Regions from separate parts of the Homo sapiens genome. Here region 2 is linked to region 1. The links are contacts of gene promoters, found by promoter capture Hi-C in human tissues and cell types (Jung and others, 2019). All regions are on one chromosome and are shown on one strand. The core of a region is centred on a gene start or on the middle of the fragment in contact, and the rest is flanking DNA. Distances in the headings are between cores, read along the strand shown. Region 1 holds the start of PPP2CB (protein phosphatase 2 catalytic subunit beta). Region 2 overlaps GSR (glutathione-disulfide reductase).

Region 1 (4,068 bases), core at 903-3,402:
ATGAATGTCAACTGAAGCCACAAGTAAGCAGTTTGTTTCAGAAAGAGAAAAATACCACTTGCTTGGCACTTCTATTTACAAAAATAAATCCTCCTGTGTTAACAAATAGTTACTTAATACACAAAGGCCCCGACCAACATTACACCCGTTAAAAATATTGTAACTTAACACCATCTATTAGTGCTCCTTTTCTAAGTAAATTTCATGATCTTAAGAGTACCCTAAAATCAGACTAACAAAATCTTTCCTTCTCCAGTGCACTTCTGCCACATCATGACTTCTAAACATTACGGTTAAGAAAATTTTATAGATTACGTTTTAAAATAACATCGTTACTTCTTCATGCACTTCAAGTGAGAATTTTTAACCTAAAAATACATGAAAATTATTTAGTCCACCTTGTAAAGGATGAATGTGGACAACTCTAGACTTCAAAGATGGAGAGATCGAAATAATTTCAGGGGTTAAGAAAACAATGGATACAGAATTTACAAAGTGAAGATCACACACTCACGATGTACAAGAACGAACTGATCACCCGCATGTTTTATTATTCTTTGGAAAAAAACTTTATATATATTAAAAACAAAAATAACTTTCTGCAAAGTGCTATCGTGCATGAAAACACACATCCCACTTATCATTTCCAGCAAACACTGTTCCCAAACTTAAGATCGGCTCTCGTTTCTGAAAATCAACACTTTACTTCCAAGAGCCACTCAACACAAAGACCAGTCACCATCTGTTTCCACCAAAGTCAACCTCTATTTTAAAAATCACAGTTGGCCATCACGCCTACCTCTCCGCAAACAAACGCTTGGCACATTCAAGAATCAGCGATTTTTTTTTTTTTTTTTTTGCTGTCGCCCAGGCTGGAGTGCAGTGGCGCGATCTCGACTCACTGCAACCAGCCTCCACCTCCTGGGCTCAAGCGATCCTCCCGCCTCAGCCTCCCGAATAGCTGGGATTACAGGCACCCGCCGTCACACCCTGCTAATTAAAAAAAATTTTTTGTGTGTGGAGACGGGGCCTCACTATGTTGCCCAGGCTGGTCTCTAACTCCTGGGCTCAAGCAATCCTCCCGCTTCAGCCTCCCGAGTAGCTGTGGCCACAGGCGTGAGCCACCACGCCCGGCTTGAGTTAGTGATTTCTGAGGTGCCCCGTTCACCTGACAAAAATTCTGCATTTATTAACAAGTTCATTAATACGCACGACATTCTGGTTAATTTTAGTTGCATTTTCAGAAACTGGTCTGAAAATGGTCCTTTTCGGACGTCGCTCTCGCTAGTCCACTCGGGAAATGCTAGAGTGGCAGGAACTCCCCAGTGGAGCGCAGGCGACCCCGACCAACCTCCTGCTTGGCTCAGGGGGCTACGTTTCCCCGCCCGTCCGCACCCGAGCCCCCCACGCCCGGGATCTGGGCAGCCGGCCGGGGGCGTGAGGCGGAGGTGGAAGGGGCAGGCGAGGGCAGCCCAACGCCCCGGGCCCTGAACCGATGGGCCGGCCGCCTAGGTGGACGCCGGAGCCGGACCCACAGCCCCGCAGGCCCCCGGTGGGCCGCGCCGGGCCAGGGGCGGACGGGACCGGGGCGGGCAGGAAAGCGGCGGCCCGTCCCAGCCCCGCGCTCCCGCACTCGCCCCCGCGGCGCCCTCACCTTCTCGCACAGCGTCCGCACTTGGTTCTCGTTCAGCTGCTTACACTCGTTCAGCTGCTCGACCCACTGGTCCAGCTCCTTGGTGAACGCCTTGTCGTCCATGGCGGCCCGATCCCGATGCGGATCCCGAGCCCCAGCCCGGCCGCCGCCCTCCCCCCTCCCCACCCGCCCCCGGCCCCGGCCCGGGCGCCGCTCCCCTCTCCCTCCGCCGCCGTCGCCAGGTCCCACAGGGGGAGGACTGAGCCGGGTAGGGCGGCCGCGGGCCCCGCGCCCCGCCCAAGCCCAGCAGGCGGCTCCGAGCGCGCAGCCTGGAGGAGACCCCCGCCCGCCCTTCCCCGCCCGGCCGCGCGCCGCGGGAGTCGGTGAAGGACGCGGTGAGGTGCCGGGGAGCGCGGCGCGGGTCCTCGGCCTAGCTCTCGCCGGACGAAGGCCGCCCGCTGCCGCTTCAGGCCCGCCTCACGCCTACCGGCCTCTCCCGACTTGTCTTTCCCCTTCTCTCGCTCTTTCTCTCCCCTCCCTCCGGGTTTCCGTCATCGCTCGGGCATTTCCGCCGGGAAAAGGCGAGCAGGCGGCGCCGCCGGGACACGGCGCCCTAGGAGCAGAACAGCGCCCTCGCGTGGCTTGGCGGAGAAACGGTCCGAGGAGGCCAGGGTCCCTCTTTTCCCCACCCTGCCCCAGACCAAGCTCTGCTGGTTCTCCCTTTAAATATCCTGATCTCTGGGAACTTTGTCCTCACTTTAGCTTCCTGCAGTACTTTGCAGCGCTCTGGACAGGGAGTTGGAAAACTTGGGCTTCCCTTAACATTGTCTCCCCAGAGTCTAGCACTCAATAGCAGGCATTCAATATTGATGGAGTAAATTAATTATTTCCAGCCTCACCTGTAGCCCCTAACATCTCGAATCCTCCCTTTCGACATTAGAAAAGTGAAATGATTGTTCTGTAGGATAATCTGTGGCCCTTCCAGCTCCAGAGCTCTTGGCTATATTTTCTGCAATGTGTACTGAGTTGTAATGATTTGTTCATTCAACAAATATTTATTGAGAGACAGAACAGGGACCCCTCTTAGGGGCCATCTAGGCACCCCCCTCCCCAAGCATGGAAATAAAGGAAAATCTTGAGTTCCCTGAAGGGACATTCCAGGCACCTAACTTCCTCAATAAGTCAATGAGCAACCTGATAAGCAAGAAGGTAATAATAGCTTAAGACAGTAGCCAAGGACGTTAGATTCACAAAATGTTTGCTTCCCTATAGAAACTAAAGACGACATATGTCCCTGAGTTGTTTTTCAGAAACCTGGACCTCACCAAATGGAAAATGGTGTCCACTGGCATGGAGATCTCAAACTACCTATCTTTGTTCTAAATTTCTTCCTGAGGAGCCTGGAAGAATTCACAAAGCTTTGCCTCCTTAACCAATTGCAAATCAGAAAATCTTTGAATCCATCTATGACCTGTGGGTCCCTGCTTCAGATATCCTGGCTTTTTAGATCAAACCCACGTATAGCCTCCATGTATTGATTTATGACTTTGCCTGTAACCTCTGCCTCCCTGCCTTTAAAAATCCTTACCTGGGCTGGGCGCAGTGGCTCATGCCTGTAATCCCAGCACTTTGGGAGGCCGAGGCCAGGAGTTGGAGACCAGCCTGCCAACATGGTGAAACCCCTTCTCTACTAAAAATACAAAAACTAGCTGGGCATGGTGGTGGGCGCCTGTAATCCCGGCTACTTGGGAGGCTGAGGCAGATGAATCACTTGAAATCGGGAGGTGGAGGTTGCAGTGAGCCGAAATCTCGCCATTGCACTCCAGCATGGGTGACAAGAGTGAAACTCTGTTTCAAAAAAAAAAAAAAAAGCACACAAAAAACCCCTTACCTGTAAACCATCAGGGAGTTGGGGTCTTAAGCATGAGCTGCCTGATTCTTCTTGCTTGGTGCAATGCAATAAATGCCTCACTTTCACTACAAACCCCAATGTCAGTGTTTGGCTTTGCCGTACTTGAGGGAGGACCTAAATTCAGTTAGGTAACATGAGCAGCTGCTAGCTGCCAGATACCTTGAATAGCATGTGCTAAATGATCATACTGTGTCTATTAAAGGTACATACTACTGCGGCTGAACCCAAGTGGAAGGTAACATCCTGTATCAGAAAGCAAGGGTTCTTGTGTTTGCTAACCCCCTAGCTATGTCCTTGGGCAATCATCAAACCTCCGTAAGCCTCAAATTCTTCATCTGTTAAAATCAATAAAAGGCCTACCTTTGTGAAGATTAAGTTTTAAAAGTGCCTGCCCAATAGTACGGTATGGGAGCGATATGTTAGTTGCCTTACCCCTCCTAGGGAACAATTACAGAAAGCTTTAGAAAAGCGGTAATTGAACTGAATTTTCAACCTTCTCTCAAGGCAAAAGCTTGAAGTTGCC
Region 2 (4,068 bases), core at 1,154-3,653, 130 kb before region 1:
GTTAGAGAGGAGTCCTTTGTATTATTTTTAGAGCTTTTCTTTAAATTTAAAATTAGTTCAAATAAAAAAGCTAAAAAAAAAAGATCAAAGAGATAGGGTGGTGTGAAGGAAAGATACTGTACACTCAAAGTAGTAGCAGGGGAGAAAACTGGAACTGTGACAAGAGAGTAACCAAAAAGCAATGTAATCTGGGGCTGAGATAGGTTTCATCAGCTGACAGAGACCTAATTTAAAGTTGGGGGCAGGGGAAAGAGGAAGGAAACCACAAATGACCTTCAGTTTTTAAATACCTACCTTCCGTGAGTCCCACTGTCCCAATAGGGGGGTGGCTGAAGACCACAGTTGGGATGTTGTTATAATCTAATTTGGAATCTTCCTTATATTCAAAAAGTCGATGGGCAAGTTTTCGGCCAGCAGCTATTGCAACTATGGAGATATTTTAAAATCAGTGTTTATCTTACTGTCTGTTTTAACATAGCTAAATTGTTCCACTAGCCATTTATCCATCTACCTTAATGCCCTAGTTCTGACAGTTTCACACCATTGTTCATTACACTATCTAGATAGTTTAATACAGCGAAGATATGTCATGCCTCAGCGAACAACTCAAAATGATTGGCTTATGAGAATCCTATACATTCTATTACAGGTTGAGCATCCCTAATCCAGAAATTCAAAATCCAAAATCCAAAATGTTGGAGCACCATGATGCCACAAGCAGAAAATTCCACACCTGACCTCATGTGAAGGGTTGCAGTCAAAAACGCAGACAAAAGTATGCCTCATGCACACATTTAAAATATCGTATAAAGTTACCTACCAACTATGTGTATAAGGTGTATGTAAAACAAATGAATTCCGTGTTTCGACTTGGGTCGCATCTGCAAAATATCTCATTATATATATGCAAATATTCCAAAATCTGAAACTGAAAACACTTCTGGTCCCAAGCATTTCAGATAAGGGATGCTCAACCTGTCTGGCCCCACTCCCAAAAGACACATTCACAAGTTCTCACTTACCTGGCAGTTAATCTACTTAATGAAGATATTAGCTTTTTAATACAATATTTATGGAACAAGCTATATTAGTTTTCAGCATCTTTAGTTCTATTTTATAACCCTAAAGTGCTGGAATTACAGGCATGAGCCACTGCGCCTAGAATCTTTATTATTATTATCATTATTATTATATTATTATTTTTTTTTTTTAGACAGAGTCTCGCTCTTGTTGCCAGGCTGGAGAGCAGTGGCGCCATCTCAGCTCGCTGCAACCTCTGCCTCCCGGGTTGAAGCAATTCTCCTGCCTCAGCCTCCCAAGTAGCTGGGACTACAGGCGTGTGCCACCACGCCCAGCTAATTTTTGTATTTTTAGCAGAGATGGGGTTTCACCATGTTGGTCAGGAAGGTCTCGATCTCTGGACCTCGTGATCTGCCCACCTCGGCCTCACAAAGTGCTGAGATTACAGGCGTGAGCCACCGTGCCCAGCTGAATCTTTATTTTTTTAATACAGACAACATCTCACTATGTTGCCCAGCCTGGTCTCAAACTACTAGACTCAAGCGATCCCCCAACTTCAGCCTCTGAAAGTGATGGGAGCCACCACACCTAGCCAAGAGCAAGAACTTTCTAAAGGAGCTAAAAGGGTTTGGGTGTGTGACTGGTGTAGGTTTTCATCCTGATATAAGGCCCTGGGACACGCTGGAATCGCTGATGAGGTTCTAGGTACAGACTGAAAGTAGATCAAGTGATCATTAATGGATAGAGATGGGACAGAGCTTGCAATGGTGCTTAGGAAGCGGGCTGAGGTGTGGGATGCCGGAGAGAAGGAAATCAGTCTTGGTTGTATCAAGACCAGTCATACAAGAATGACAATCTAGGCCATGTGTGGTGGCTCATGCCTGTAATCCTAACATTCTGGGAGGCTGAGGCAGGCAGTCTGCTTAAGCACAGGGGTTCAAGACAACATGGTAAAACCCTGTCTCTACAAAAAATGCACCTGTGATCCTAGCTACTTGGGAGTCTGAGGTGGGAGGATCACCTGAGCCCAGGAAGGTTGAAACTGCAGTGAGCCCGTGATCATGCCACTGCACTCCAGCCTGGGTAACAGAGTGTCTCCAAAAAAAAAAAAAATGCCAATCTAAATTACTTCTTCCAAATGCCACTTCCTTCCACTGCCACCAAGCACAAGTCTGCTCCTAAGAGAGTTCCGCAACGGGTGATCATATTGTCTACATGAAAACTTCAGTCTGTGCTAAGCATTTTAAGTCTTTTATTCAGATAATGTCAGGTATCCAACCAATATCTATTTCAACACATTGTACCATTTTGACAATATAAAGACACTCATCCTTTTAACTTTGCTTAAGCAGACTGCAGATTTGACAGTGAAGAGCCAGATGGATCATGTAACACGCAGACCCTCCCTCACCAAGAAGGGAAGAGACCTTACCTGGAGTAAGAAGAGCTTTTCCACATACATCCCCAACTGCATAGATGCCTTTGACGTTGGTATTCTGGAATTCGTCTACGATGATATGACCCTTGTCATCGGTTTGAATCCCCTAAAATTACAAAGAGATATCATGTAACCACTTGGCCCACCTACTAAAAAAGGTAGATCAAACCTCTGGATCTCCCTTCCTCATTTCACATGGGAACTGCAGCCAGAATCTCCAAGAAACCATGAGACTCAGCTGCAACACGAAAGGCATTTACAGCTGGCAAGTTTCAAGCTGGGTACAGTGGGCCCACACCTGTAACCCCAGAACTTTGAGAAGCCGAAGAGGGAGGATCCCTTAAGCCCAGGAGTTTGAGATCAGCTTGGGCAACACAGTGAGACCCTGCCTCTGTTAGAAATTAGAAAAAAAAAAGTTGGCAAGTTTCATATCTTGCTTAACATAAAAGGTAGTATTTTATCCACTTTTGAGATGTTTTAACAGGATTTGACATTGCAATGTACAATTCAACTGGCCAGGCAGACATGAAGAGGATCACTCAACTATCAGGTGTGCCACTTGGAATCCCTCTGGAGTCCAGCTTTTCAACTTGTCCCATGGAAGCACTGCTCCTGAGGAACACTGACTCAAGCAGTCACCAAAAGCATATCTATGTTTATTTAGTTTTTTTTTAGAGACAGGGTCTCGCTCTGTTACCCAGGCTGGAGTGCAGTGGTGTGATCATGGCTCACTGCAATCTTGACCTCCTGGGCTTAAGCAATCCTCCTGCTTAGCCTCCCGAGTAGCTAGAACTAGAGGCATGTGCCATCACACCTGGATAATTTTTTAACATACATTTATTTATTTATTTATTTATTTATTTATTTATTTATTTATTTATTTATTTATTTATTGAGATGGAGTCTCGCTCTGTCGCCCAGGCTGGCGCGATCTAGGCTCTCTGCAAGCTCTGCCTCCCAGGTTCACGCCATTCTCCTGCCTCAGCCTCCCGAGTAGCTGGGACTACAGGTGCCCGCCGCCACACCCAGCTAATTTTTTTGTATTTTTAGTAGAGACGGGGTTTCACCATGTTAGCCAGGATGGTCTTGATCTCCTGACCTCGTGATCCACCTGCCTCGGCCTCCCAGAGTGTTGGGATTACAGGCGTGAACCACCACGCCTAGCCTTTTTAACATTTTTTTATAGAATAGGTCTTGCTGTTTCCCAGGCTGACCTCAAACTTCTGGCCTCAAGTGATCCTCACGCCTAGGTCTCCCAAAGCACTGGGGTTACAGGTGTGAGCCACCATGCCTGGCCAAAAGCACATTTCTATGAAGCTTACCATTTTGTCTTTAAAAATCCAAGCAACTTTTGCACTCTACTCTAAAACATACTGATGTTTTTTTCAGACTCCCAGAAGAAAAGTAAAAGCAAAACAAAACAAAAACACATATTGATGTTTCCCTTAACCAAAAATATTTTCCTATATGTAGTCAAATTTTTGCTTTAAGAAGACATGTTATGCTTATCATGTGGCTTTGCAAATCCTAAGTATATATGAGAAGTAGAGATATGGCAGAAGTAGGAAGTAAGTAGCCACAGAGCTTAAGAGTACAACTGGCCAGGCGCA

Evidence for each region. The method cuts DNA at HindIII sites, captures the fragments that hold promoters and counts their contacts. A contact is called where the count stands out against the background at its distance.
Region 2: a contact is called between a fragment that was not itself captured here and the fragment with the promoter of PPP2CB in region 1, in 1 of the 25 tissues and cell types used here (mesendoderm cells).

The regions. Positions count from the first base shown.
Region 1 is chr8:30,810,666-30,814,733 of GRCh38, forward strand. It overlaps PPP2CB (protein phosphatase 2 catalytic subunit beta), which reads right to left and starts at 2,153. Exons shown (of 7, transcript NM_001009552.2): 1 at 1,655-2,153. The coding sequence starts at 1,756. RefSeq lists silencers at 1,407-1,466, 1,527-1,636, 1,717-1,776, 1,807-2,026. The HindIII fragment of the contact is 3,135 bases long and covers 1,228-4,068 here.
Region 2 is chr8:30,681,636-30,685,703 of GRCh38, forward strand. GSR (glutathione-disulfide reductase) reads right to left here. Exons shown (of 13, transcript NM_000637.5): 10 at 2,453-2,564; 11 at 295-426. Among named protein-coding and RNA genes, the nearest start is that of GTF2E2, 25 kb to the left of the region's middle. The HindIII fragment of the contact is 3,449 bases long and covers 680-4,068 here.